Linked DNA regions of Homo sapiens: all the other regions are linked to region 6. The links are contacts of gene promoters, found by promoter capture Hi-C in blood cells and fetal thymus (Javierre and others, 2016). All regions are on one chromosome and are shown on one strand. Each heading gives the region's core, a stretch centred on a gene start or on the middle of the fragment in contact. The rest is flanking DNA. Distances are from core to core; before and after follow the strand shown.

Region 1 (4,320 bases), core at 1,030-3,529, 580 kb after region 6:
TGAATGCCTTCCCTGTTAAATTAAGGCTTTGCTGCCATTTCAACATCTTCTTAACTTCGTATTCAGAACTACTCTTGGAAATCCATACACTTAACTACCTCCCATGTTGTGAAGGAAATCTTAGAGGGCAATGATTAAGAGAACTAAAAAATGAGGGGCATATATCCAGAATTAAGCACAAAAATCAGTCATCAAATAATAGTGCCATTGTGTTAAGTGGCCACCATATGTGAAGACTTTACATGGATCATTCTAACCCTTATGACAGCAATAAAGGTAATAAAGCATTAAGTTGTTGGTGAGAGCCAGACACTGTATTTGACACTCTGAAATACATGATCTCTGACAGAAAATGCTGCATAGCACTTGCTACCTGCCAGGCCTTGTTTTAAGTGCTTCCTGTATATTAATTTCCTTAGTACCCACACTGACCTCATGAGGAAAAGGTATTATTAATCTCATTCTACAGATGAGGAAACCAAGGCACAGAAAGGTTAAGTAACTTGACCAAGGACGTACAAGTTAATAGATAACAGAGCTAGGAATCAAATCTAGAAAGTCTGTTCCATACAACCCTACAAGAAAGATAATGTCCTATAACTGTAGGGATGCTTTTCAGCTGTGGATTAGCTGACAAATCAACCACAAAACCCCAATGGCCTAACACAACAATGGTTTACTTCTCACTCATGCTACATGTTGCCTGCAAGTTTATGAGTGTCTATGTTCCATATAGTCACTTAGGGACCCTTGATTGATGGAAGTTCCACCATGGAGATTGTTCCCCATTGCCTCAGCAGGGGTAAGAGAGCACACAGAGATTGCACACTTGCTTTTTTCTACTTCAGCCCCAAAGTGTCACAGGTAATTTTCCCTCACAGCTCATTGGCCAGACCTAATCATATGATCCCACCTAACTATAGGAAGCTTGGAAATTAGTCTTTCATGCTTTCAGAAGGAGAGAATCAGATGGTAGTAAATACTAGTTATGTCTATGCAAACTGCATTTATCAAAACATCCAACTAAATGTTCAGCTACATATGTAATGGAAAATAGTATTCTTTTAGCAAGGGAAAAGAAAACGGCTAGGATAGATAACTAGCAGTGTCCATCATATACCCTAATCTTAAGATGAAGAATGTGAGACTTAGAGAGGTTTAGTAATGGATTAAAGGTCATATAGTAAGAAAGTAGTACACTCAAATTTGAACCCTGGTCTGACTCCAAAGTCTATAATCCTTTTGCTCCAGCAAACTGCCTCCCAAAGACAGGAAGAAATTGTTTTGTGATCATCCACCACTCAGAATTATCCACAATGGTCCACAAAGTCTATAAAAGAGAACTTAGAGCTAGAGCTGGCTACTGACCACTGCTGCATCATATAAAACCAGAGATGTCAGAACAGGAAGGAGTTCTTACATGACAGACCAGACCACCTATCGCCACCTTAGTACTTTTCAGATATGGAAACTGAGGCCCATGATGTGGAGTATGTTGTTCAAGAATACATGGATGATAATGAGACAGTGCTACCATAACATTTGTATCAAGCAGGGTCTTGGCAGGAAACACAGCACATTCAAAAGGTGTAACTGAAGGTAGGGGCAGGGTTAAGGGAACCTATAAGGTAAGGTGCATTGGTCCTGGATCAGTAGCAGGAAGAAACCACTACCATCTCTCGACCTGAAGTGAGAAGGAGAGTAATGGTTACCAGAACCTGGTAAAAGCTGAGGCTGTCAGAGAGGGACAACCCAACACAAGCTATGGCATGAAATAGTGGAACACAGCCACTGCCAAATGTGACCTGGCAGAGAAGAAGCTGGAGAAGTAAATACTGAGATCTGGCTTTCCTCTCAACCCTCTGATCCTTTCTCCCTCCCCCACTGATACGTTGCATTGTCAAACCTAACTGGAAGCCAGAGGACAAGGGAGCCTGGTTGATGCAGCCCATAGAAGTCAGTCTCCAGGGGCCCAGAGCAGGGTAAGGAAGGGTAGAGAGTGCAGCTGGAGTGGGAAACTCAAGAGTATCCATTATGGTGACTTTCCTTTCTTTTCACTGATTCATTCATTTATTTATTTACCATGCATAGTGTCAGAAAGTGCTAAACACATTTTAATTTCCATCAACATTCAAGTTTTGTCTTTAAAATTTGGTGGTGAAAGCATGTCATCTATCCAAGTATAAGGCTAGTTTTATTTCAAAGAACAGGGGTAGATTTTAAGGCCATGCTCAGTTTAGCATGAGGTAAAGAAAACTACATTTAAAAAATTCTACCACAGCTTGACTTCTGGTTAAACATGGCAGACTGATAACACATGATTATCTCTCTCCCTCCCGAAGTCTCATTAATGGAATTAAAACAATGCAAATAAAAAGTGTGTGTGTGTGTGTGTGTGTGTGTGTGAGAGAGAGAGAGAGAGAGAGAAGAGAAAGACAGAGAGAAAGAGGTGTTAAGTCCACGCAGACTAAGAAAACAGGGAAGGAGACATTAGTGGACAAGAATTATCCATAAATGTTTCGAAGACAGGAAATGATGGGAAGAACGAATATTTATTTCAGAGAGTAAAGGAAAAGCAAGTTAGAACCTAAGTGCTTGCAGAAAGACATGCCAATGAAAAGTGAAACAATTAGTCCCCATTGAATCCTGGGAAGGCTTAAGGGTTTAGAAATACCAAGTACCACAGAAATTGGGATAAGACACAGGAAAACAGGAATTAAAACTCTGTATAGGGAGCAGCAGGCTCCCATATATACTTTTCAGCATGCAGCTACCTAGATAACTATTTTATCCTCTCCCTTTGCCCCCAGGAAACAAGAGAGTTCCACTCTTCAATATGAATAGACAGCCAAGGATCACAAAACATTTGAGGAACTCTTCCAATATGAGAGAAGTCAAAACAAACAAACAGAGAAAACAGAGATGATACAATAACAGAAGAAAACTTAAAACTATAATTAATATCCTCAGAGATAAGAGAAAATTTATATCCATAAGCATAAGCAGGATACTACAAAAAGGAAGACACAGAAAACAAAGGAATTTAAGGACACTGAAAATATGATAATCAAACTGCAAAAAAGTAAAAGGATTAAAATAAGAAAATCTCCCAAAAAGAAGAACATAAAGACCAAGAGAGGAAAAGACAAGAAAAGCAGAGGAACAATATGGGAGGTCTAATATCCAAATAATTGAAATTTCAGAAAGAAAAAACGAAGGGGAGAAAATTATCAAAGTCATAATGTAAGAAAAATAAGGACATAAATTTCCACATTTAAAGCTCCTAAGGAAGGATCAGTAAAATGAATGCATAAAGATCTATACCAAGTCACACTGTCAAAACATGTCTGAATTATAAGGGCTAAAAAAAAAAAGAACCTAAAAGGTTTCAGAGCAAAGGAAAAAAACAATGCTTATACGGAAGACTCTTATACCAGAACTAGATTGGCATCAGCCTTTTAAATAACAACACTGAAAACGAGGAGACAATGGAGCAATGCCTTCAAAATTCTGCGAAAAACCAATTCATAATTTTATACGCAACACAGCTATTTATTTCCTTTGGCAAAAATATAATTTTACCTGTGGAAGGATTATTTTTATTTTCCAGGCTTATTGACATCAAGCTTGGCCATAAGACTTGATTTTCCAATGACATGTGAACAGAAGTGATGTGTACCACTTCAGAGCAGCAGCTTTGACAGCCAACACTGATTCAATCAGTGCTATTTTTCCTCTGCCATGAGAACTGCTTCTCCTAGAGAGGGGCTGCTCCCTTAACCTAGGTGCCAGAGTGAAAAAGACCTGGCTAGAACTACTGCTAACCCATGAAAGACATAGGATACCAGTAAGAAAGAAATCTTGTATAAGCCATTGGGATTTTGGAATCATTTGCACCACGGCATAGCCTACTAAAAAGCTGACTAATATAATTTGTCATAAACCTTTATTTAGGAAGCTATTAAAGCACGTGCTCCAGCAAAACAAGTAAGCAAATAATTTTTAAAAAGGAGACAAAAGACCCAAAAACTAGGGTCCTAATACAGGAAACTGGCAAAGGGAGGATGATTCCTGTACAGAAGGCCCAGAGAGCCAAGGCTGAAGCGGGAGGCTGGAAGACTCCAAGAAAAAATAAAATTGGTAGGTTATCTGATATATTTCAGTGTTCAAAAAATAATACTGAGGACTACTTGATAAATCTGATGAATGTTGTGCAGAAAATAAGAAATGAGTAAAAAGAAAACTAAGCAAATAAGAAATTAGGCAATTATTGACTCTGGGGAAAATAAAATATTATTCAAAAAAGGAAGTGAAAGCATA
Region 2 (4,387 bases), core at 1,174-3,673, 560 kb after region 6:
TAATTTACAGTATAAATGTATTAAACAAAAATGCACAATAGCTGGAGATTCTGCCTGAGGTCTTCATAATGTCATTACACAGGAAAAACTGTGGGCTTCATACTGTGGGAATCTCTTTTTGGCTTGTATTATAAGCAGGAAGTGCTTCTTCCCACCCAAGATCCCTCCCATGGTTTAGCTTGTAAGAAAATGCTGTTCCAGCATGAGAAAACTCAGCTCCACCCTCTGGTATGGAGTCTGGCATGCAGTGTTATGTTCACAGTGTGGCTATTATTGTGGCTTGCCACTAGAGAATCGCAGGCTCATAGAAAAGCTAGAAATACTGATTTAAGGGAGGCAGTATATATATTGATTAAAAGCATATTTTTTAGGGTCAGATAAACCTGGGTTCAAATTCTAGTTCTTCCATCTACCAGCTGTGTGACCGTAGACAATGTCCTTAGCCTTCCTGTGCCTCATCTGTCACTTTGGAGATAATTACTGCACCTCCCTCATGGGTTTGTCATGAGGATTAAAGGAAATTATGCATATAGTAAATGCCTAAATAAGAGTGAGCTAGAATGAAAGCTAGTGAGGTCAGAAGTCACTGACCTCAAGTTCCAAATAAACAAGAACTTTATAGTTGATAAGGCCAGACCAGAAAATATGGACTGAAGCGGTAGGAGAAAACTTATGAAAAGGATAAAATAAACTATTAGAAAGTATTGGGACAAACTCTGAAGCCTGGTTTGAAACCCACTTTGAGAGTCGCCCAAGGCCAGAGTGGACACATGGTGCTCAGGAAGGAAAACCAATCAAGTTAATTTTCATCTCCATGGAGCATTTGCAAGCCACCAGAAGTCTTCAAGTGTCAGAATGCATAACTGGGTAGTGCCCTCAATATAGAGAAAAAGTAAAAGAAACCTGAAGACAGCAAATGAACACTGAATTTACACATTCAAAATCAAATTCAGTGCCCTATATACAAAACTTATCAAAACCTCAGGGTTTTCCTAAAGTTACATTTCAACCATGTAGCCTTTAAGGGAGTCAGCAAGACTGCATGTGCTGACATGGAAAGCATGGAAAGATACACATGTGACATGGTTTCAATGTGTGTCCTCTCCAAATCTCATGTTGAAATGTGATTCCTAATGTTGGAGGTGGGACCTGGTGAGAGGTGACTGGTCAGCCCCTTTAGCTGCTTAGCATCATCACCTTGGTGATAAGTGAGTTGTCACTTTGAGTGCACATGAGATCTGTTTTTTTAAGAGACTGGGACCTTCTCCGTCTCTCTCTTGTTCTCTCTCTCACCATATGATGTGCCTGCTCCACCTTCGTTTTCCACATGATTGTAAGCTTTCTGAGGGCTTCACCAGAAGCAGATGCCAGCAGCAAACTTCCTGTACAACCTGTAGAGCCATGAGCCAATTAAACCTCTTTTCTTTGTAAATTACCCAGCCTCAGGTATTTCTTTATAGCAAAGCAAATGGCCTGATACAACATGGAAGTGGATGTACAAAACTTGTGTTTACCATGCTCCAGTCTGAGTTTTCTAAGAAAGCATATATAAGTAAATGTGTGTATGTTACCTATATGTACATATATGTATGAATGTATACATTACATACACACTTATATACATATAGAAAATTTTTATAGGGATATGTAAGAAATTGTTATTGATGTTATACAAAGGAGTGAAACTAGGAGCTTGATGTGGAAGAGGATCTTCTTTTCATTTTATATGCTTTTGTACTGTGCATTTTTACCATAAGTATGTATTATTTTTATAATTTAAAAAGGGACAACAACCCCAGAAAGAAATAACTCTAAAAACTCAGTACATTGTACAGTACTTTGCATGAAGTAGGACTCAGTAAATACTTGACTGAATGGATGAAAGTCACTCAATCACCCCATCAGTTGGTATATGGGATGGGGAAAAGCATATACAAAGAAGAGAAAAGAAATAAAAAAGGAGAATAGCAAGCACCAACTTGGAGCAGTTTTCATTCCCTCAAAAGATAAAAAAAAATGGAAGGAAAGTCACCAAAGGAAAAAGCTGACAAGTATCTTCCCCACCCCAGTGGTGCCTGCTGTCAAAAATTGCAATGTGCTTTGCAAATACTGTCTGCAGATCTGTGAGAGGGTGTAAACAGAAGGCTCTTTAAAGAGTTAATCAAAGCTGTGCTGTGCTCCAAACAGGGAAGGAGCAGAGAAGAGGTTAATGTCCTCCTCGTGGCCATGAAAGATGCTTTGCCATGAGGATGCTTCTCAGTGAGGAGCCCAGGGACTACATGGAAAGTGCAGTAAAACGCTCCACATTGGTACTAATAGGTGCCATTTGCAGAACACTGCCTTCCCAAATCTGAAAGTTTGTAATGAAATGCTTTTCCACAAAGAGCGGTAGAAATTATGGGTACAAAACCCCACTAGGTTATCCACCTGTCTCTTAGATTGGATTTAATTCCATATAAATCCTGATATGGATTTAACACTACATAAATCCTAATGCTTTCAATGATGTATAAGGGGGATTTACACTAATAAATCCTAAATAGAAAATACAGGCACAAAGCAACAATACTAAATGCAAAGGAAAGAGAGTCACCTTCACTGATTCATCTTGATATATACCAAGGTAATTATGAACTGCCAGCATGTTTTTAAATTTAGGGTTTTTTTTTTTAAAGAAATTACAACTTCATTGAAAGTTTAATGGATGAAGCTATCAAAGTCAAGTTAAAACAAACAAGCACAGATGCCATTTTCATTGATCAATGCAATTTAGTATCCTCATGGGACAGAACCAAATTCCTGAACAAATATAGGAGAGAAATAAGGAAGCCTGGCCCCACAGCAAGCACAGTGTACCTTTATTTTAACAAGGGCAAACTTGGCCTTTGGTCAAGGTGGTGAGACTGAGTGCAGTAGCCTTGTTGCCACTAGAGAAGTCCACCAGAAAGCAGATTTACTCATCAATGAAAACTATATAGATCATTTTCAATTTTGTAATTTAGCAGTTAGGGGCCCTTATAAATATGTTGTCTATGTTATTTCACTTTACTTTTCAAACTTTTCTATTTTCCCTCCATTCTATCCAGTTGTGAAAACTGGGACACTTCCAAACTTTGGGACAATTACTCACCAAATGGCTCATAGAAAAAGCACAACCGGAATCCAGACTTCTCTTCTAGCAAACAACCTTTATCTCTTTCCTTCTCCTTTCTTCTCTACCTTACTTATTGTCAGGAGATGTGAGTGTGAGGCCTGGCTGTGCCACCAACTTGCTGTGTGGCCTATAAAGGTGGCTTCTCTTCTCTCAGGTTCACTCTCCCTATGTATACAATGAAGAAGTGGACTAAATGAATGCTAACTTTCAATGGCATTGACTCCATTAATATAAAAAGTCCTTCTTGATCCCAGTATTAACCTGACAGAGCTGGAGGCCTTTTCTAGTCTGATCCCCATTCCCTGATGGAGGATACCCAGCTTTTGGTGCTCTCTTCAGGAGAGTAAAGCTTCTCTGACAGGAAGATGAGAGACTTCCACTCAGGCTCTGGATTAGCATCTCAGAAATCTGAGTCAATAGAAATCATGCCAACCAACCTCTATGGCACAATATATGCTCACTTAGTAGACATAGTAATAATTAATTATTATTACTCAAATATTACTCAATATTTTATGACTATTGGGGTAAAAGAACTCATAATGACAGCTCACTCAAGGCTCTCCATAATCCTGCAACTGTCTCTGCTCAAAGCCGCATTGCTATCTTCATGATATCTGTTTCAGTCATGGTTATCCAGAGAGAACAAATAGGAGATACACACACACACTCACACACATGCACACGCTCATACATGTGCATGCACACACATAAACACACACAAACACATTGTCTTAGTTCATTTTGTGCTGTTCTGACAGAATACCACAGACTGGGTAATTTATAAACAACAGAAATATGTTTTCCACAGTTCTGGAAGCTGGAAGTCCATGATCATGGTACCAGCTGATTTGGCATCGAGTCAAAGCTGTCTCCACTTCCAAGACGGCTTCTTGAATGCTACATCCTCCAGAGGGAGAAACACTATTCCTCACATGGCAGAAGAGCAAAAGAGCTGAGAGGGAGAGAGCAAAAGGGGGCCAAACTTGCCCTTTTATAACATACTCACTCCTACTCAACAGCATTAATCCACTCATGAGGGCAGAGCCCTGTCGATCCAATCACCTCTCAAAGGCCCCACTTCCTAAATATTGTCACAATGGCAATCAAATTTCAACATGAATTTTGAAGGGGACAAACAACATTCCAACCATAGTGCATGCACGCGTGCGTGCATGGGGGTGTGTGTGTGTGTCTGCGTATGGAGAGAGAGAGAGAGGGAGAGAGAGAGAT
Region 3 (4,313 bases), core at 882-3,381, 600 kb after region 6:
AAGACTGAATGTACTTTCCTAAATTCTTGACTTTTCAAAATTGTTCACCTCTATATGGTTTACAGCAACTTATTCCTTGTAGAATATTTTCTAGGTATAAAATCACTATTATTTGGGGCTATTGTTTTTGTGATTTTTTTCAAAGAGCCAGGAAGACACCTCAACAATCATAAAGATAATTCCTCATTAAATGGCATGAGTAGAGATCTTTCATTTAGCGAAATAAGCTTTCTGTAGGGAAAGTTACCCAGAAAATTAGAACTTGTTTAGCAAATGTGTGTCACATCAGTGATTGGCAATAAAATAAACACAGGAAAGTATAAATTCAATTCATGCCATTTCTAAATTTGTGATAACTCAGTCATGGCTGGCATATTTCACCTTTCCTCTATCAATTAAAGAAAGAGCTAGGTCAAATGGTATTTCTAGTTCTAGATCCCTGAGGAATCGCCACACTGACTTCCACAATGGTTGAACTAGTTTACAGTCCCACCAACAGTGTAAAAGTGTTCCTATTTCTCCACATCCTCTCCAGCACCTGTTGTTTCCTGACTTTTTAATGATTGCCATTCTAACTGGTGTGAGATGATATCTCATAGTGGTTTTGATTTGCATTTCTCTGATGGCCAGTGATGATGAGCATTTTTTCATGTGTTTTTTGGCTGCATAAATGTCTACCATTTGACCCAGCCATCCCATTACTGGGTATATACCCAAATGACTATAAATCATGCTGCTATAAAGACACATGCACACGTATGTTTATTGAGGCATTATTCACAATAGCAAAGACTTGGAACCAACCCAAATGTCCAACAATGATAGACTGGATTAAGAAAATGTGGCACATATACACCATGGAATACTATGCAGCCATAAGAAATGATGAGTTCATGTCCTTTGTAGGGACATGGATGAAATTGGAAACCATCATTCTCAGTAAACTATCGCAAGAACAAAAAACCAAACACCGCATATTCTCACTCATAGGTGGGAATTGAACAATGAGATCACATGGACACAGGAAGGGGAATATCACACTCTGGGGACTGTGGTGGGGTTGGGGGAGGGGGGAGGGATAGCATTGGGAGATATACCTAATGCTAGATGACGAGTTAGTGGGTGCAGCGCACCAGCATGGCACATGTATACATATGTAACTAACCTGCACAATGTGCACATGTACCCTAAAACTTAAAGTATAATTAAAAAAAAAAAAAGAAAGAGCAACAACAGGTTTCTGAGTAAATTAAGAGTATAAACATGAGCTCTTAGGGGATGTTTAACCCAGTTCAGAGAACAACTCTTTCCAAGCTCTCTAACAAATTCATTTGCATATAAATAATTAGTGTGCTGATTTCAAATGACCTTTACCTACTCATTGGAGTATACTCGATCAAGACCTCTACTTGGCAATATTTTGTTAGCTTTTTATAATATCATTTCTGCTTGAAAATAAGAAAAAAATTATTATTTTAAAGAGATCTCATTAAAGAACATTAAGAAAATGTCTGTCCATAAATGCCTCATGCAGTAAGACATGAGGCAGTTTGCCCCATTATTCAGGGTATATAAACCAAGTCTCCACTTAGGATCCAAAATGCCCAGTACTTTAAGAGAGTCAAAGGGAAAGACCATGCGCTTGTATTGCTTTTACAATTTAAAAAATCTACTTAGTGTAGAAAATTTCAGAAAATAGGTAGATAAGTGTTCTAGTAACTCAAATTCTATCTGAGCCTGAAAGGTAACTCAGAGGTCATGCAGGATGACCCAACCCCTGACAACAAAACGCTCAGCATATGCCCAGAAACCTGGCTTTTGCTTAAGGATATCCAGAGCCTCAGAGCTTCCCATCTCCCAAAGCTCTTCCCATCATCCAACAGTCAAAGTATTAGTCTTTCCTTATATTGGACCAAATCTGTCTCCCCGTAATTCCTACATATTGGTCCAAGTTTCTAGGGGAAAAAAACAAAACAAACAAACAAACAACAACAACAACAAAAATGATGTTTCTATGGTTCTTTACACAGCACTTTCCACATACACATTCTCATTGGACTATCTTAATAATCCTGTGAAGCAGTTATTCCTACTACCCTTGTTTCACAGATGAAGACCTGGAGGCTAAGAGAGGCTCAGGAACTACTGACGGTTGCAGAGTGGTGAAGTGTCAGAAGCAGGGCTTGAACTCAGGTTTTCTAACTCCACCTTTTATAGCATTTTCAGTATCCCTTGTTGCCTCAAACATTAAAAAGAGAGAGAGAGAAATACGCTGCTTCTGCTTCCCCATGGGAACAGCCTTTGAAGTCGAAAGGGGGTAGAATTATTGAAGATGCACTCTCCACACATTCTCTCTGAGAGATGTCTTACTATTCACTTGGGTTTAAACTGCCCAGACATAGAGGCCTTGACCTGTATTTCCAGCCTAGACACATCCTGAGTTCCAGAACAAAATAGCTGCTCTCCCCTCTGGAAGTCCCACAGTACCTCAAATTCAGCAGGTTCCAAGCTGAATTTATCCAATTTTTTTGTACATTCTATCTCCACTGTTCATTCCTGAACTTGGTCAAAAATACCACCATCTACTCAGACAGCCATGCCAGAAACCTGGAGAATTACCTTAGACACTTTTCTCTCCCTCACCAATCCTCCCCACAACATCGTAAGAGTTTCACCATTTTGCATCTGCCTCTTCCTCTCTGTCCTCACTGCTACTGCCTTATACAGTCCACCATATCTCTTAGATGAATTCAGTGACCTTCAAAATGGTCTCTAGGCGTCTAGTAGCATCCCTTTCAAATCTACCTGCCTCCATGTAGACTGTCACCAGAGTGATGCAACAGGGCAGTCTATGTCACTCATTGCCTCCACATGTGACTCTCAAATCTAGCTAACTAAGAAAATGCCTGTTCCCCAGATGATTTCAATAATTCAGCAATGTGTAGTAACTAATGGTGTACAAAGCAAAGTCTACGTACTCAATGATCTGAATCTCACCTACCTCTCTAAGTCATCATTTCTGCCATTTTCCCCTTGGCAAGGAATACTCCAGCAATCCTAAAAACATACCATACTGGTTTGCACCTCTGTGCCCTGACTGGGGCTGATCTCTCAGCCTAGAATATCTTTACCCTTGGCCAATCTCCAATGAACCTTCAAAACTTAACTGAGGTGTCACTTCTTCAGGTAGTCTTTCACAACATTATCAGACTGGATTAGGTGCCCCTCCGTATGACTCCACGGCATCACACAAAGTTCTCTATCATGACACTTAGCATATTGTGTTGAAATTATTTGCTCATATTCTGACAAGCCTATAAGCTCTCAAAACCAAGGAACATGTTTATTCATCACTGATAAGTACCTGTCACTTAGTAGATGCTTAGTAAATGTTCACCTGAAATGGATCTAATTTCAAGTGTAGGCTCCATACTTGGCTAACTGTAGAGTTGAATTTTAGGAAACTCAATTCAGCTGCTTAGACCTCAGTTCGCCAAACTGTAAAATAGGCACAATAAATCCCCACGTTTGGCCAGGTGTGGTGGCTCATGCCTATGATCCCAGCACTTTGAGAGGCTGAGGCAGGATGACCACTTGAGGCCAGGAGTTCAAGACATGCCCGGGAAACCCTGTCTCTACAAAAAAAAAAACAGCCAGGCATTAGTGATGGTGCATGCCTTTAGTCCTAGCTACTTGGGAGGCTGAAGCATTAGGATCACTTGAGCCCAGAAGTTCAAGGCTGCAGTGAGCTATGATCGCACCACTGCACTCCTGCCTGGGCAAGAGTGAGAGACACCCTGTCTCTCTACAAAGCAAAATAAAACAAAAACCTCCATGTTCATTCATACACTAAACATGTGATTACTAAGGGACAGGCACTAGCTTGTGTGAAGATTTAATAAATTGAATAATGTATGTGAGAGTTTTTGTAAACTCTCACATAGTATTATAAAGATATTTCTGCAATTTTAGCTTCTACTTAGTGTCTCAGCCAGAAATAATTTCATTCCCTAAAGCCAAAGTTAACTAAGCTTTTAGTCTCCATTAGGCTCACCAAGGTATCAGAGGAAGAAAGCCACATGTGAACAAATATGAACCTAAAAGAGTCAATCCTTCAAGATGGATCCCAAGTGGCTAACTGGGCCTAAATTTAAAATACAGCCAGGCAGCCATTTGCTGACTAAAGGTCACTCTGAGTTTCCCAAAAACTCCCACCTCTCTTTAACTTTGGGACTTTCAGAGCTCACCTATACCAACCAATTAGGGCTTAGCTGTATTTACCAATCAGAACTTAGCTGCATCAACCAACTAGA
Region 4 (4,424 bases), core at 1,005-3,504, 940 kb after region 6:
GGAAATGACTTTTGAGCTAGATTTTGAATTGAGCTAGTCTTTTGAGCCAGACTTTTGAGCTAGAATTGTAGGGTTGTCATCAGACCAGAGAGTAGGAAGGGTACCTTGTGAGGAAGAGAGAGAGAGATCAGATTGTTACTGTGTCTATGTAGAAAAGGAAGACATAAGAAACTCCATTTTGATCTGTACTAAGAAAAATTGTTTCTGCTTTGAGATGCTGTTAACCTGTAACTTTAGTCCCAACCCTGTGCTCACAGAAACCTGTGCTGTAATGAATCAAGGTTTAATGGATTTAGGGCTGTGCAGGATGTACCTTGTTAACAATATGTTTGCAGGCAGTATGCTTGGTAAAAGTCATCGCCATTCTCCATTCTCGATTAACCAGGGACACAGTGCACTGCGGAAGGCCGCAGGGACATCTGCCCAAGAAAGCCTGGGTATTGTCCAAGGTTTCCCCCCACTGAGACAGCCTGAGATATGGCCTTGTGGGAAAGGAAAGACCTTACCACCCCCCAGCCCGACACCCGTAAAGTGTCTGTGCTGAGGAGGAGTAGTGAAAGAGCGGGGCCTCTTTGCAGTTGAGATAAGAGGAAGGCTTCTGTCTCCTGCTCATCCCTGGGAATGGAATGTCTCTGTGTAAAGCTGACCATTCCCATTCGTTCTATTCTGAGATAGGAGAAAACCACCCTGTGGCTGGAGGCGAAGTATGCTGGCAGCAATACTGCTCTGTTACTCTTTGCTACACTGAGTTGTTTGGGTAAAGAGAAACATAAATCTAGCCTGCGTGCACATCCAGGCACAGTACCTTTCCTTGAACTTATTCATGATACAGATTCCTTTGCTCACGTTTCCCTGCTGACCTTCTCCCCACCTGTTGCCCTGCTACACTCCCCTCGCTAAGATAGTAAAAATAATGATCAGTAAATACTGAGGTAACTCAGAGGCTAGCGCTGGTGCGGGTCCTCCGTATGCTGAGTGCCGGTCCCCTGGGCCCACTGTTCTTTCTCTATACTTTGTTTCTGTGTCTTATTTCTTTTCTCAGTCTCGTCCCACCTGACGAGAAATACCCACAGGTGTGGAGGGGCTGGCCCCTTTCAGTATCTCAGAAGGGACAAAGTACACAAAGGCATGGGGTCATGATAGTGCCTGGTATGTTCAGGTAGTGAAGAGGTCCATGTGGTATGAGCACTGCAGATGATATGTGTCGTATGAATTAAAAATACATAGTTACTGCAAATAGTTTTTACAGGTTATTGTTTTTAAGAAAGCAGTATCTAATGCACGAGTGTACTGTCAGTACTGTCAATGAACTACTTACCACTCAAGTGACTGCTTATCTGTTGTTCTGTCCTCTCAAGCCACCTACAGTCAGAAAATGGTCTTGATTTTACTGATGTTGCTGTTAATAATAGCTGTGACTTCTTGAGTACCCACCACATGCCAGGCCCAATGTAGGGGCTTTGCATCCATTATCCATGATCTTTACAACAACCCTGCAAAATTAGGTATCAGCCTTATTTTAAAGTCTTGACAGCTTGTGACTTCCCTGAAGTTGCATAGGCAGGAAGAATCTAAGTCAACATTCGAATCCACGTCAGTCTCATGAAGCCTGTGCTCTTTCCTGCGTGCCATGCCATAGTTCTAGTTAAGTGACAACTCCTTTCCTCCATGACATTGTAGATCCAGTATGCTAAGGAACCCTCTATTTACAAATTGTAAGTGATTAAACAAAACAAACCTGTTAGTGGCGCTTATACATCCAAATGAGTGTTGTTATTCAAAGAGGTTACTTGGGGAAAGAGAATGTATACACCTATTCCATTGTTCATACTCCTTGTTACTCATCTGGAATTCCCTTTAAAGTCAGTTTACATATCACATAAGAAGATCCATCTCATTGCTTTATGATCATCTATCATTTTCAACCAAAATAGTTCCACCTAGTTTGATCACACATCTTATTCACTAACCTTGGCTCTGACTGACTGTTTGCCATTTCCAAAATTTGAATCCACCCTCAGTGAAAATTTAGCACCATTTGGGATAGTCAGAAGATCAGACTGCAGGTTCTCAAGGTGCTTCCAAGAAGAAAGCTTCAAAGATGATTTGAGTAATGAAGTACCATTGGAATTACTGCATTGCCTCCCAAGGGGACTGGTTAAAGGAGAGAAATCTCATTTGAATGTATAATTTCCAGTTTTAAAAGTATCATTCCTATTACTTGATAATTACACACACATTGTTCTTAGCTGTGTTCTTTGAGGGCCAGGATTTGGAGGTGCTGAATTACGTGCTGAATGAGTGGATGTTGGGTACAAATAGACATCTACCACTGGGAAGTCTTTGTTGTACAGGAGAGACCGTGGATTGAAGGAGTTTTAGATAGTTTCCTAGGACTCCAGAAGTTAAGCTTTTTAATATGGAGCTTGAGTTTTCTAATCATTTTGCCTGATATGTCATGCCTGTACAAGATGACTGGAATTTAAGACAAAAGCCTCGAACTCTGGAGATAGATGCTTTATAAGTGGAGACTCATACTTTGTCAGCTCCAACCTAATAGTGACAACAATGATTGCTAAATGAGATTATTACCTACAATGTGGCAGAACTTTTGTCTTTCATAATACTGCTAAAGCTAGAATGGGTAAAATGTATCATTTACACAGTGCTTTCACATACCCTTGTCTTAATGAATCAGTATATGAGGAATCAGATGAGGAGACAGACCTGGGGGAAAATAACTCACCCAAGACCACACCGCTGATGAATGGCAGTTGAGGAACTTAAATGCAGATCTTCCTACTGGCCTGGGCTCTGCTTTTATTTGGCTTTTGTGCTTTTTTGTATCTACTGGTTAAATGCTCTTAAACATTTTTTATCTTAATAAAACCAGCTAAAGTCTCCACTAAAAGACTTTAAATTTGGTTAATAAGGTGTAAGAGGGGCAGTTCCCTTGATAGTTTGTGAGTATGTCAGGTTGTCATTTGGAGCCATTCTGTCAAGCTTTAGACTGGGATGTGCCATCCAAAGTTTGTGTGTGTGTATGTGCTTGTGCGTGTGTACGTGCATGCAGGCATGTGTTAATGCGCGTGTATGTGCTCCAGTGAAGCCAGCAGCTTCCACTGGAAAAAAACTGATAGGTCTAAAAAGAGTCCAGCTGCATTCTTATGATATGCAGAAAACAGATACTAGAACTTTTACATTCAGAGTCATCATTCCTTTGCTAAGTATATTCTCTCTCTCCCTCCCTTCTTCCTTTTCTCCCTCCCTATTCTCCCAACCCTGCAAAGTGGAGAGAGGGAATTTGAGCCTGAGCAGAAAGCTCCATGTAAATTTCAGAGAGGATACTAGCTTTGGCCCAGGTAGCACTACTTAGTGATTCATCGTATACTAACACTACAGATTCAAATGAGAGTGGAATAAATCCATTCTAAAGGTGTAACTGGAAAAGTGAATTTTAAGAAGTAGTGATTAATGTTAAACCAGAACCTCCCATTTCTCCCAGGTTTGTGGAGAATTAAGCAGTCTATTTTTATACTTGGAATCTGGTCTGAATGTTTCTTGAAAAGTAACTCAAAGTAGTTTAGGCTATGACCATAAGTTATTTTTGTAAATACATTTTCTTATCACTGTATTATTGCATATTATTGTGTATTCTTTTGCAAATCAGGCTTGATATTTCCTTTTGGCTATGCAGTCACCTTTTAGACTTTGCTTGCAAATATATTGATATAGTTAAGATACTATTCTTTCTTTCCCCAACTAGGAGTGTGTATGAATTACATCTTTTGAACTTACTGATTGTATTACTTTGTTTTACTTGATCAACTTTGTAGTTTAATTTTTTTAAAAAGCTAGCTGTTGGGATTACTGATCAGTTTCATTTTTATATCTATATTTCTACTTTTAGTTTTATTATTTTCATGTTTTGGCTTTTTCCCCAAATTTCTTAGAAACTCAGTTTACTAGTTTTCTTTTGCCTCTTTTTTTTTTTCTTTGTTTTCTACTTTTACTTAAACATTTTAAATGAACACATTTTCTCTTGAGTTTTGTTTTGGCAGCTGCCCAGGTATTTTTATGTTTCAATTGTATTTTAGTAACTCTACTAAACTGCTTAACAAATCAGTATTGAAAATGATCCATTTTTTGTCAGTGTTTTTATGAATTGTATAAAATGTCTACCTCTGGTCTCTACTGATTACAATCTACCTTACACACTCATATGTATCTTCTGTCACTCTTGTTGAGAAAATCTGCAGTGGCCCCATATTACCTATTAATAAATTCCAAGGACTTTACCTTGATATTCACATTCCCCTACCATGTTACCACAGCCAACTTCTGGCTTATTCCCCCCAGTACCCTTTCTCCTGTCTCTGCAGCACCCTACCCACCACGATTTATAGAAAGTATTCTGTGTGTTC
Region 5 (4,214 bases), core at 86-2,585, 700 kb after region 6:
CTTCCCCTGTTTTTCCCTCCATATCTTTTACTTTAAAAGTACCATTCAGGCATTTGCCTGTGAACTTAACATGACCCATGTCCTATTTTTCTATATTTATACTGCTCTCTCTCTCTCTCTCTCTCTCTCTCTCTCTCTGTCTCTGTCTCTCTCCCTTCCCTCTCTCTGTGCCTGATTCTTTGCTTCTTCATTCCTGCCTCATATCATTAGGGAATAGAGAACCGTCCTCCCAACTCTTTGAACCCTCTCTGACCAGGATCTGTAAGTAATAAATCTTTGAACTTATTTCCTGTCATGGTGGTAATTTGAATTTTTGCCTTCCATTTGAATATCCTGTGTCTAACCAAGGCCAGGCTTTACCTGGGATGTTGTGGGGAACACAAGATCAGGGTCCATGTGACAGAACGGTGGTCAGGCAGGCATAAACGAAACACAGATTAGACAAGAACCACAGTGACATCTGCCATTATAAACAAATTTCCCACATGAGGGGCTACCTAATCAATGGTTGGACAACTAGGCACAAGAATTATCCTGTGAAAGGCATACTGGAAACACCTACCTTAAGCTCCCCTTCATTTCCAGTTATGGAAACCTTACCAGCTACTCTGGTACTGGAACCTCAGTTTGGCTGGGAATTTTAAAAACAGCCCCTTAGGCAGGCTTCCCATGAATTAAACCAACTGAAATTGAACAGATCAAAGAATGAGCCAGATGAGGAATCTACTTGTTTTAACCAAGCAGCCTGTTTGTCCTATTTATCCACATGCAACTGAAAGTGTTAGCAACTGCAGAGATCCCTCCGTTTTGAGCTAGAAGGTTGCAGTTCTATGATCTACTATCCTATCACAGGGCTAAATTAAAGCAGAGAGTGAGGTCAAGTGGGTCTGGAAGTCTGACTCTATAAAAGGGATTACTAGTAAAGTTTGGATAAACAATTGCATCAAGGATGTTGATAAAGCTAGCTACTGGGTGGATTAAAAATTCTCTTAGGTCATGTAAAAATATGGGTTTGGCATGGCATATCCAACTTTTTATGGAATCTAATCATTGTAAAATTCTAACTACTTTTGACCCTTGAACAACGTAGGTTTGAAATGTGTCGGTCCAGTTATACATGAACTTTCTTCTGCTCATGCCATTCCTGAGACTGTGAGAATAACCACTCCTCTTCCTTCTCTTCCACAGCCTACTGAAAGTGTGGATGATGAGGACAAAAACCCTTATCATGACCCACTTCACTTAATAAATAGTAAATATATTTTACTAAAATATACAAATACGTAAAATATATAAATGCAAAACCCTTATGATGATCCACTTTCACTTAATGAATAGTAAATATGTTTTGTCTTACATAGGATTTTCTTAATAACCCTTTCTCTTCTCTAGCTTTCTTTATTGTAAGAGTATAGTACATAATGCATTAAACAGAAAAAAATATGTGTTAATTCTTACGGTTTCCAGTCAGCCGTAAGCTATTAGTAGTTATGTTTCTGGGGAGTAGTATGTTATATGTAGATTTTTGACTGCATTGGGAGTCAGTGCCTCCAGCCCTCACTTTATTCAAGAATCAGTTGTACAGGTATTATCCTGACAAGTGAATGAGGTAAGCATAAGTAAGAAAAAATTAAGAGGGGTAAGGGTGTCATTGTGATAGTCTTATTTCAATAAGACTTCAGTAAGTCAATAAGTTTTATTTCAAGTGTGACTTCATAAGAAGTCATACCTTTTTAACTTTTATGTTAGGTTCAGGGGTACTTGTGCAGGTTTGTTATACAGGTACATTGTGTGTCATGGGGGTTTGGTGCACGCCTCATCCAGGTAATAAGCATAGTACATGATAGATGGTTTTTCAATCCTCACCCTCCTCCCACCCTCCAACTTCAAATAGGCTCTTGTGTCTGTGTTCCCTTCTTTGTGTCCATGTGGACTCCATGATTACCTCCCACTTATAACTGAGAACATGTGGTATTTGGTTTTCTGTTCCTGTGTTAGTTCACTTAGAATAATGGCCTCCAGCTCCATCCATGGTGCTGCAAAGGACATGATCTCTTTTTATGGCTGTGTAGTATTCCATGGTGTATATGTACCACATTTTCTTTTTCCAATCTATTGCTGATGGACATGTAGGTGATCCTATATCTTTGCTTTTGTGAATAGTGCTGCAATGAATATATGCATGCATGTGTCTTTATGATAGAACGATTCCTTTGGGTATATACCCAATAATGGGATTGCTGGGTTTAATGGTAATTCTGCCTTAAGTTCTTTCAGAAATCACAACTGGGTTTTTCACAGTGGCAGAACTAACATACATTCTCACCAGCAGTGTATAAGAATTCCCTTTCCTCTGCAACCTCACCAGTGTCTGTTATTTTCTTCACTTTTTAGTAGTAGCCATTCTGACTGGTTTGAGATCGTATCTCATTGTGGTTTTGATTTGTATTTCTCTAATAGTTGGTGATGTGGAAAATTTTTTCATATGTTTGTTGGCCACGTGTATGTCTTCTTTTGAAAAGTGTCTGTTCATGTCCTTTGCTCACTTTTTTTTTGGGGGGTGGGGTCGGGGAACAGAGTCTCACTCTGTCGCCTTGGCTGGAGTGCAGTGGCGCAATCTCGGCTCACTGCAACCTCCACCTCCCAGGTTCAAGCAATTCTCCTGTCTCAGCCTCCCAAGTAGCTGGGATTACAAGCATACACCACCACGCCTGGCTAATTTTTTTTGTGTTTTTAGTAGAAGCAGGGTTTCACCATATTGGCCAGGCTGGTCTCGAACTCCTGACCTTGTGATTTGCCTGCCTCAGCCTCCCAAAGTGCTGGAATTACATGCATGAGCCACCGTGCCTGGCCTCTGCTCATGTTTTAATTGAGTTGTTGTTTTGCTTGTAAATTTGTTTAAGTTCCTTATAGATTCTGAATATTAGACCTTTGTGAAATGCATAGTTTGCAAATATTTTATCCCATTCTGTAGATTGTCTGTTTATTCTCTTAATAGTTTCTTTTGCTGTGCAGATGCTCTTCAGTTTAATTAGGTCCTATTTGTCAATTTTTGTTTGTGTTGCAATTGCTTTTGGCATCATTGTGAAATCCTTGCCAGGGCCTAGGTCTAAAATGGTATTTTCTTGGTTCTCTTCCAGGGTTTTTATAGTTTTAGGTTTTAGGTTTAAGTTTCTAATCCATCTTGAGTTGTTTTTTGAATATGATGTAATGAAGTGGTCCAGTTTCAATCTTCTACATATGGCTAGCCAGTAATCCCAGCACCATTTGTTGAATGGGTAGTCCTTTCCCCCCTGCTTATTTTTGTTGACTTTGTCAAAGATCAGGTGATTGTAGGTGTGTGGTTTTATTTATGGGTTCTCTAACCTGTTCCATTGGTTTATATGTCTGTTTTTTGTACCAGTACCATGGTTTCTTGGTTATTGTAGCCTTGTAGTGCAGTTTGAATTCAGGCAGTGTGACGCTTCAAACTTTGCTCTTTTTGCTTCAGATTGCCCTGGCTATTTGGGCTGTTTTTGGTTCCATATGAATTTTAAAAATAGATTTTTTTTCTAATTGTGAGAGAAATGTCATTGGCAGTTTGATAGGAATAGCATTGAGTCTCTAAATTACTTTGGGCAGTATGGTCATTTCAACAATATTGATTCTTACTCTCCTTGAACGTGGAATATTTTCCATTTGTTTGTGTTATCTCTCATTTCTTTGACCAATGTTTTATAATTCTTGTAGAAATGTTTCATCACTCTGGTTAGCTGTATTCCTAGATATTTCATTCTTTTTTTGTGGCTGTTGTGAATGAGATTGCATTCTTGATTTGGCTCTCTTCTTGGATGTTGTTGGTGTATAGAGATGTTACTGATTATCGTACGTTGTGTATCCTGAGACATTGTAGAAGTTGTTTATCAGAACTAGAAGTTTTTGGGCAGAGACTATGGGTTTTCTAGTTATAGAATCAAATTGTCTACAAACAGAGGTAGTTTGATTTTCTCTCTTCCTATTTTGATGCCTTTTATATGATCCTCTTGCTTGATTTCTCTGGCTAGGACTTCCATTACTATGCTGAATACGAGTGGTGAGAGTGGTCATCCTTGTCTTTTTCTATTTCTCATGGAAAATGCTTCCAGCTTTTGCCCATTCAGTATGATGTTGGCTGCAAGCTCGTCACAGATTGCTGTCATTATTTGGAAGTATATTCCTTCAAAGCCTGGTTTTTT
Region 6 (4,458 bases), core at 100-2,599:
CTGGTTCAAATCTCCCCCATGGTGTGGAATCTCTGAAAAGTAGATTTGATTTTGTGAAGCAGCCAAAAGCCATTCAGAATCAAATCTGGTGAATACATGATCGTGCCCAATATATATGTTGGATGAAGGCAAACGTGTCTGCAAAGTAACAGGCCTGATTGTCTTATTTGGTTGGTAAACCGATTTTGAAGGAAATTCAAAATGGTTTGCAGTCTAGCAAAATTGCTGGCTCAGTCTCAAGACTCTAAGGTGCTTATTTCACAAGGAATAATACTGAGCTGTGGTAAAAAGAATCCAGACTAGACAGACACCAAGATACCCCCAAAGAGCTGGCTTGTGATATTAGCTTTGCCATTAAGTTGCCCTGAAGCCCGGGACATATTAGTTACCCTCTCTGGGCCTCAGTTCCCCCATCCAGGAAACAAATGAACAATGTAAACTTCAGGATGCCAGTCAATTCTAAAATGCTATAATTTTATTCTTGTGAAGATCTGGTGTATCTGTTTCAAAACCAGTCGCAACCCACTTCGCCTCAAACGATGCGTGCGTCTATAAAGCTCTAATATAATTTTTGCAGCAGATTCACTTCTTACTTGCTTAGGCAAATACTAAAATTAGTTTTCACTTCCTGAGCGCAGCAAAAGACAGTTAAGGGAGGCAACCCGGCCACGGGCGCTTGCTCGTGCCTGTACATACTTCCGACTGCGTATCAGGGAACTAACCGTTCCCTCTAAGATCTTCCCTCAACTGTTGCAAAAGCAGATAAACCTCTCGTGTATGACACAGAAACACTGGCCGAGAGCGGCCATCGAGGCTTCGCGGCCAGTGCCGGGCTGCGGCCGCTCCGCAGGGCCCACCGGGGATGCGACGGACGCCCGCTCCGTGCGGAGGGCCAAGGCGAGGACCAGCCGCGGAGCGTCGCCGGGGAGGCAGGGCGGACGCCCGGCCCACTCACCGCCCCGGGACGGGGAAGCAAAGTCCAGGCAGTGGCTGAGACGTCCGCCCCCAGCTCCACGGCCAGCCAACCCCTACCCCCGTCCCGACCTTCGCCCGCCGCCGGCCGGCCACCTTGGGCGGGGAGAACGGGAGGAAGCCGGAGGTACCTGCCTGCTGCTCCCTGGCCTCAGCCCTGCCCCGCGGGGACAGCGACGGCGCTTGGACGAAACCCCCACCCAACCCTGACGGTGCGGCAAGGCCCCGCGCGACCCGCTGGCCCAAGGAGTCCCAACTTCCTCCTCCCGATCCCCTCACCACGGGTCCCCGCAGTGCCCGGCTCCGAGCCAGGCCAGCCGTGAGCGCGCACCCACCTCGGGCTCCGGGCGCCACCGCCGTTGCCAGGCTGCTCGGCTGCCGGGCCCTGCTCCGCCCCCTCTGGGGTCCGCCCCCCACGGCCTGCCCGCCCCCGGCCACCGCCCGCTGCCCGCCTCCCCGTGCCGGTTGGCGGGACTGCATCACGTGACGGGGCAGGGGGCAGGAAGAGTGCGCCGGGTCGACCTGGGGAGCAGCTCCGAAGGGCGGGGCTCTTCGCCCGAGAGGCTGCTGGGAAGCCCATTTTGAAGGGTCCGACGCATGGAGGCAGCTGGGAATTGTAGTTCGCAATATGGTGCTGGGGATGGGCGGGGCCAAGATGCCAGGGGCCATCCCTGTAAGGGAAGTTGGACTGGGCGCCGGGCGGAGGCGGCTGGGAAGCGTAGTCCCGGGACCCTTGTCTGGGTCTCCCCATTTTTCTTCAGTAAAGGGGAAATCCAGAGGGAAAACTTCTCTATACAAGACTTTAGCGGATGCCACTAAATTGAGCTATTATTGGGTACACAGGGTTGGCTGCGTAAAGTTGAGATAGTATAAGGGAAAAAGAAATTTCACTGACTCTGGGGCAGGATCTGCAATTCACAAACTCAACTAACAGCTGGGGTGTCCCTCAGCTGTGCCAGCACCTTTCCAAGAACGCAATTGAGACTTAGTGAACGGAAACATTTCAGTCCAAAATTCCTTCTACTTGTTGAGGTTTGGGTCAGACAACTATTGATACAGTAAAAAGAAAGGGACAGGAAAAAGAGAAGAAAGGCAAACTTCAAGAAGAGAATTCATTGTGTAATCAAATAAAACAAACAATCTGGGCCGGGCGCGGTGGCTCACGCCTGTAATCCTAGCACTTTGGGAGGCCAACGCAGGCGGATCACCTGAGGTCAGGAGTTCGAGACCAGCCTGGACGACATGGTGAAACCTCGTCTCTACTAAAAATACAAAAATTATCCAGGCGTGGTGGCAGGTGTCTGTAATACCAGCTGCTCGGGAAGCTGAGGCAAGAGAATCGCTTGAACCCGGGAGGGAGAGGTTGCAGTGAGCTGAGATGGCACCACTGCACTCCAGCCTGTGTGACAAAGCGAGACTGCGTGTCAAAAAAATTAAAAAAAGAAAAGACAACCTGGCACATAGAAAAATGAGCATAATATTCTTTGTACTGCATAATACTTATACGCGAGCAGTTCGAGTAAATAGGATGACTTTATCATGACCTGTTTTTTTTCTCTTGTATGTGTTAGTTCTCCAGCATCTAAAAACAGCATTTTACCTGATACCAGTGTATATGTGTACGTGTGTTTCTACATAGTCACACACATATACACATATATTCATATATCATTTATATATGCATATATATATGCTTTATTGAAGAGTCTAGACTTCTTAGAAGAGTAACAAAGCCATCCAGAATCCAACCCAACCCACTCTTTAGCCACTTCTCCCAGTGTGCCTCTTTTTGCTCTTCACCCCAAGCTCTGGCCTAGTTCCAGGGAACTTGATGCACTGGGTTTTTTCTTTCCTCCAGCCCTTTCCACTTGGTCCTCTCTCCTGGATTTGCCAAACTCCTGGAAAGACAGCAGAATAGCAGCTGCTCCTGGGCCCCCGCACAATTAGAAGTCTCCCCCACCCAGCCCTTCTTGTTGTACTGATGTCATCATTTGCTTACACGTCTGCTCTGCCAACTCCCCTCCCCAGACTATGAACTCCTTTGAATCTCATTCACTTTTGTGCTGAATTTCAAAGCACGCTCAGTAAATTTGCATGCTAGAGAGGCTCCCTGGTGGGCTGCTGAATAACTCTGGATTCCTGGTATCTGTGAATCTTAGGGCAGAGGGATAGAGGAAAATGGGGATGGGTGGAGGGAGGGCAGCAGCTGCCTGGGATACCTTGCATATAATAGGCCTGGTTAAGTGTCCCAAGATGAGGCCAAAGCTTTTCGATGGAGCTGGGAGGAGCTGGGGGTTAGGAGGTGGGGAAGGTGCAGAGCAGGGATGGTCTCATCCTAAGGAGGTAATTCCTGAAGATTTTTCCAGGGTCCAGCCCCAGCCCAGCCCCACCTCTAGAAAGATGCAATTCAACCAGAAAGGGCCAGTAGAGAAGATTAGCCTTTGGCCTGTGAAATGGAGAGAGTAACCCCTGCCGTGCCTGTCTCACGGTGTAGGTGCAGAGATCGAATGAGGCAACAGATGAGGAAGCACTTTGAAAACTGTAAAGGTTGTACACTATGGGCTGGGCGCGGTGGCTCAGGCCTGTGATCCCAGCACCTTGGGAGGCCGAGGCGGGCGGATCACTTGAGGTCAGGAGTTCGAAACCAACCTGGCCAACATGGTGAAACCCCGTCTCTACTAAAAATACAAAAAAATTAGCCAGGCGTGGTGGTGGGCGCCTGTAATCCCAGCTAATCGGGAGGCTGAGGCAGGAGAATTACTTGAACCCGGGTGGTGAAGGTTGCAGTGAGCTGAGATTGCACCACTACACTTCAGCCTGGGTGACAGAGTGAGATTCCATCTCAAAACAAACAAACAAACAAGGTTGTACACTATGGAGGGGTTACCGCCTTGCCCTTGGTGACATCGCTGTATTCTTGACTGAGCCTGCCCTCTTCCAGGCTGGGGCTGCACTCACATTTCAGTGTGTGTGTGTGTGTGTGTGTGTGTGTGTGTGTGTGTGTAGGAATCTTCAGGCTTCCCTGCATTTTGCACACATACACCCCCCCATCATGCAGGAGGCCTGTGAGAAGATGGCTGGCCTCCCTCTCCAGGGCTCCAGGACAATAGAGAGGAGGGGGCAATAGATGCGACCTCAGGCTGCTTCTTCCACAACCCTTCTGAGTAGCACAGCCTACACCTGTTTCCGCCCCTCTCCCCCAGAGTCCTCCCGCTTTTGCTAAGGCACAGGCTGGAGGGCTGGAGGCACCTCCTACCTTCAGAGGCTTCATCCTGTTCTCTGCAGTTGGGGGAGGCAGGCTAGGCAGCACCAGGAGGAGCCTGCACTCTGGATTTGGTTGGCTTCATCCCTTACCTCCACCTCTGGCCTCTCACCTCCTAGATAAGAAGCAGGCCCGAGCGAGGAAATGGCCTGTTTCCTGCTACTTCTCCCTTGGCCTCTATGCTCTGATCTCCCCAGTCCCCACTCCTGCCTCAACTTAATCCT

The links. Contacts are between HindIII fragments. The CHiCAGO score rates a contact against its expected background, and 5 or more counts as called.
Region 1: a fragment that was not itself captured here is called in contact with the fragment with the promoter of MTM1 in region 6 in 4 of 17 cell types (naive B cells, M1 macrophages, M0 macrophages and 1 more); the score reaches 8.7 in naive B cells.
Region 2: a contact is called between a fragment that was not itself captured here and the fragment with the promoter of MTM1 in region 6, in 1 of 17 cell types (M1 macrophages). The highest score is 6.3, in M1 macrophages.
Region 3: a fragment that was not itself captured here is called in contact with the fragment with the promoter of MTM1 in region 6 in 15 of 17 cell types (M0 macrophages, M1 macrophages, M2 macrophages and 12 more); the score reaches 15.9 in M0 macrophages.
Region 4: a contact is called between a fragment that was not itself captured here and the fragment with the promoter of MTM1 in region 6, in 1 of 17 cell types (naive B cells). The highest score is 6.1, in naive B cells.
Region 5: a fragment that was not itself captured here is called in contact with the fragment with the promoter of MTM1 in region 6 in 1 of 17 cell types (erythroblasts); the score reaches 6.1 in erythroblasts.

The regions. Positions count from the first base shown.
Region 1 is chrX:149,987,824-149,992,143 of GRCh38, reverse strand. The region is part of intron 9 of EOLA2-DT (EOLA2 divergent transcript); the gene reads right to left. Among named protein-coding and RNA genes, the nearest start is that of EOLA2-DT, 51 kb to the right of the region's middle. The HindIII fragment of the contact is 2,699 bases long and covers 930-3,628 here.
Region 2 is chrX:150,008,652-150,013,038 of GRCh38, reverse strand. The region is part of intron 9 of EOLA2-DT (EOLA2 divergent transcript); the gene reads right to left. Among named protein-coding and RNA genes, the nearest start is that of EOLA2-DT, 72 kb to the right of the region's middle. The HindIII fragment of the contact is 2,165 bases long and covers 1,341-3,505 here.
Region 3 is chrX:149,970,724-149,975,036 of GRCh38, reverse strand. All of the region lies in intron 9 of EOLA2-DT (EOLA2 divergent transcript), which reads right to left. Among named protein-coding and RNA genes, the nearest start is that of EOLA2-DT, 34 kb to the right of the region's middle. The HindIII fragment of the contact is 3,804 bases long and covers 230-4,033 here.
Region 4 is chrX:149,623,192-149,627,615 of GRCh38, reverse strand. The region is part of intron 1 of TMEM185A (transmembrane protein 185A); the gene reads left to right. Among named protein-coding and RNA genes, the nearest start is that of TMEM185A, 6.4 kb to the left of the region's middle. The HindIII fragment of the contact is 317 bases long and covers 2,096-2,412 here.
Region 5 is chrX:149,862,458-149,866,671 of GRCh38, reverse strand. All of the region lies in intron 2 of LINC00850 (long intergenic non-protein coding RNA 850), which reads right to left. Among named protein-coding and RNA genes, the nearest start is that of MAGEA8, 17 kb to the left of the region's middle. The HindIII fragment of the contact is 7,908 bases long and covers 1-4,214 here.
Region 6 is chrX:150,565,512-150,569,969 of GRCh38, reverse strand. It overlaps MTM1 (myotubularin 1), which reads right to left and starts at 1,349. Exons shown (of 15, transcript NM_000252.3): 1 at 1,308-1,349. RefSeq lists a silencer at 868-1,547 and enhancers at 2,832-3,753, 3,754-4,458. The HindIII fragment of the contact is 5,391 bases long and covers 1-3,239 here.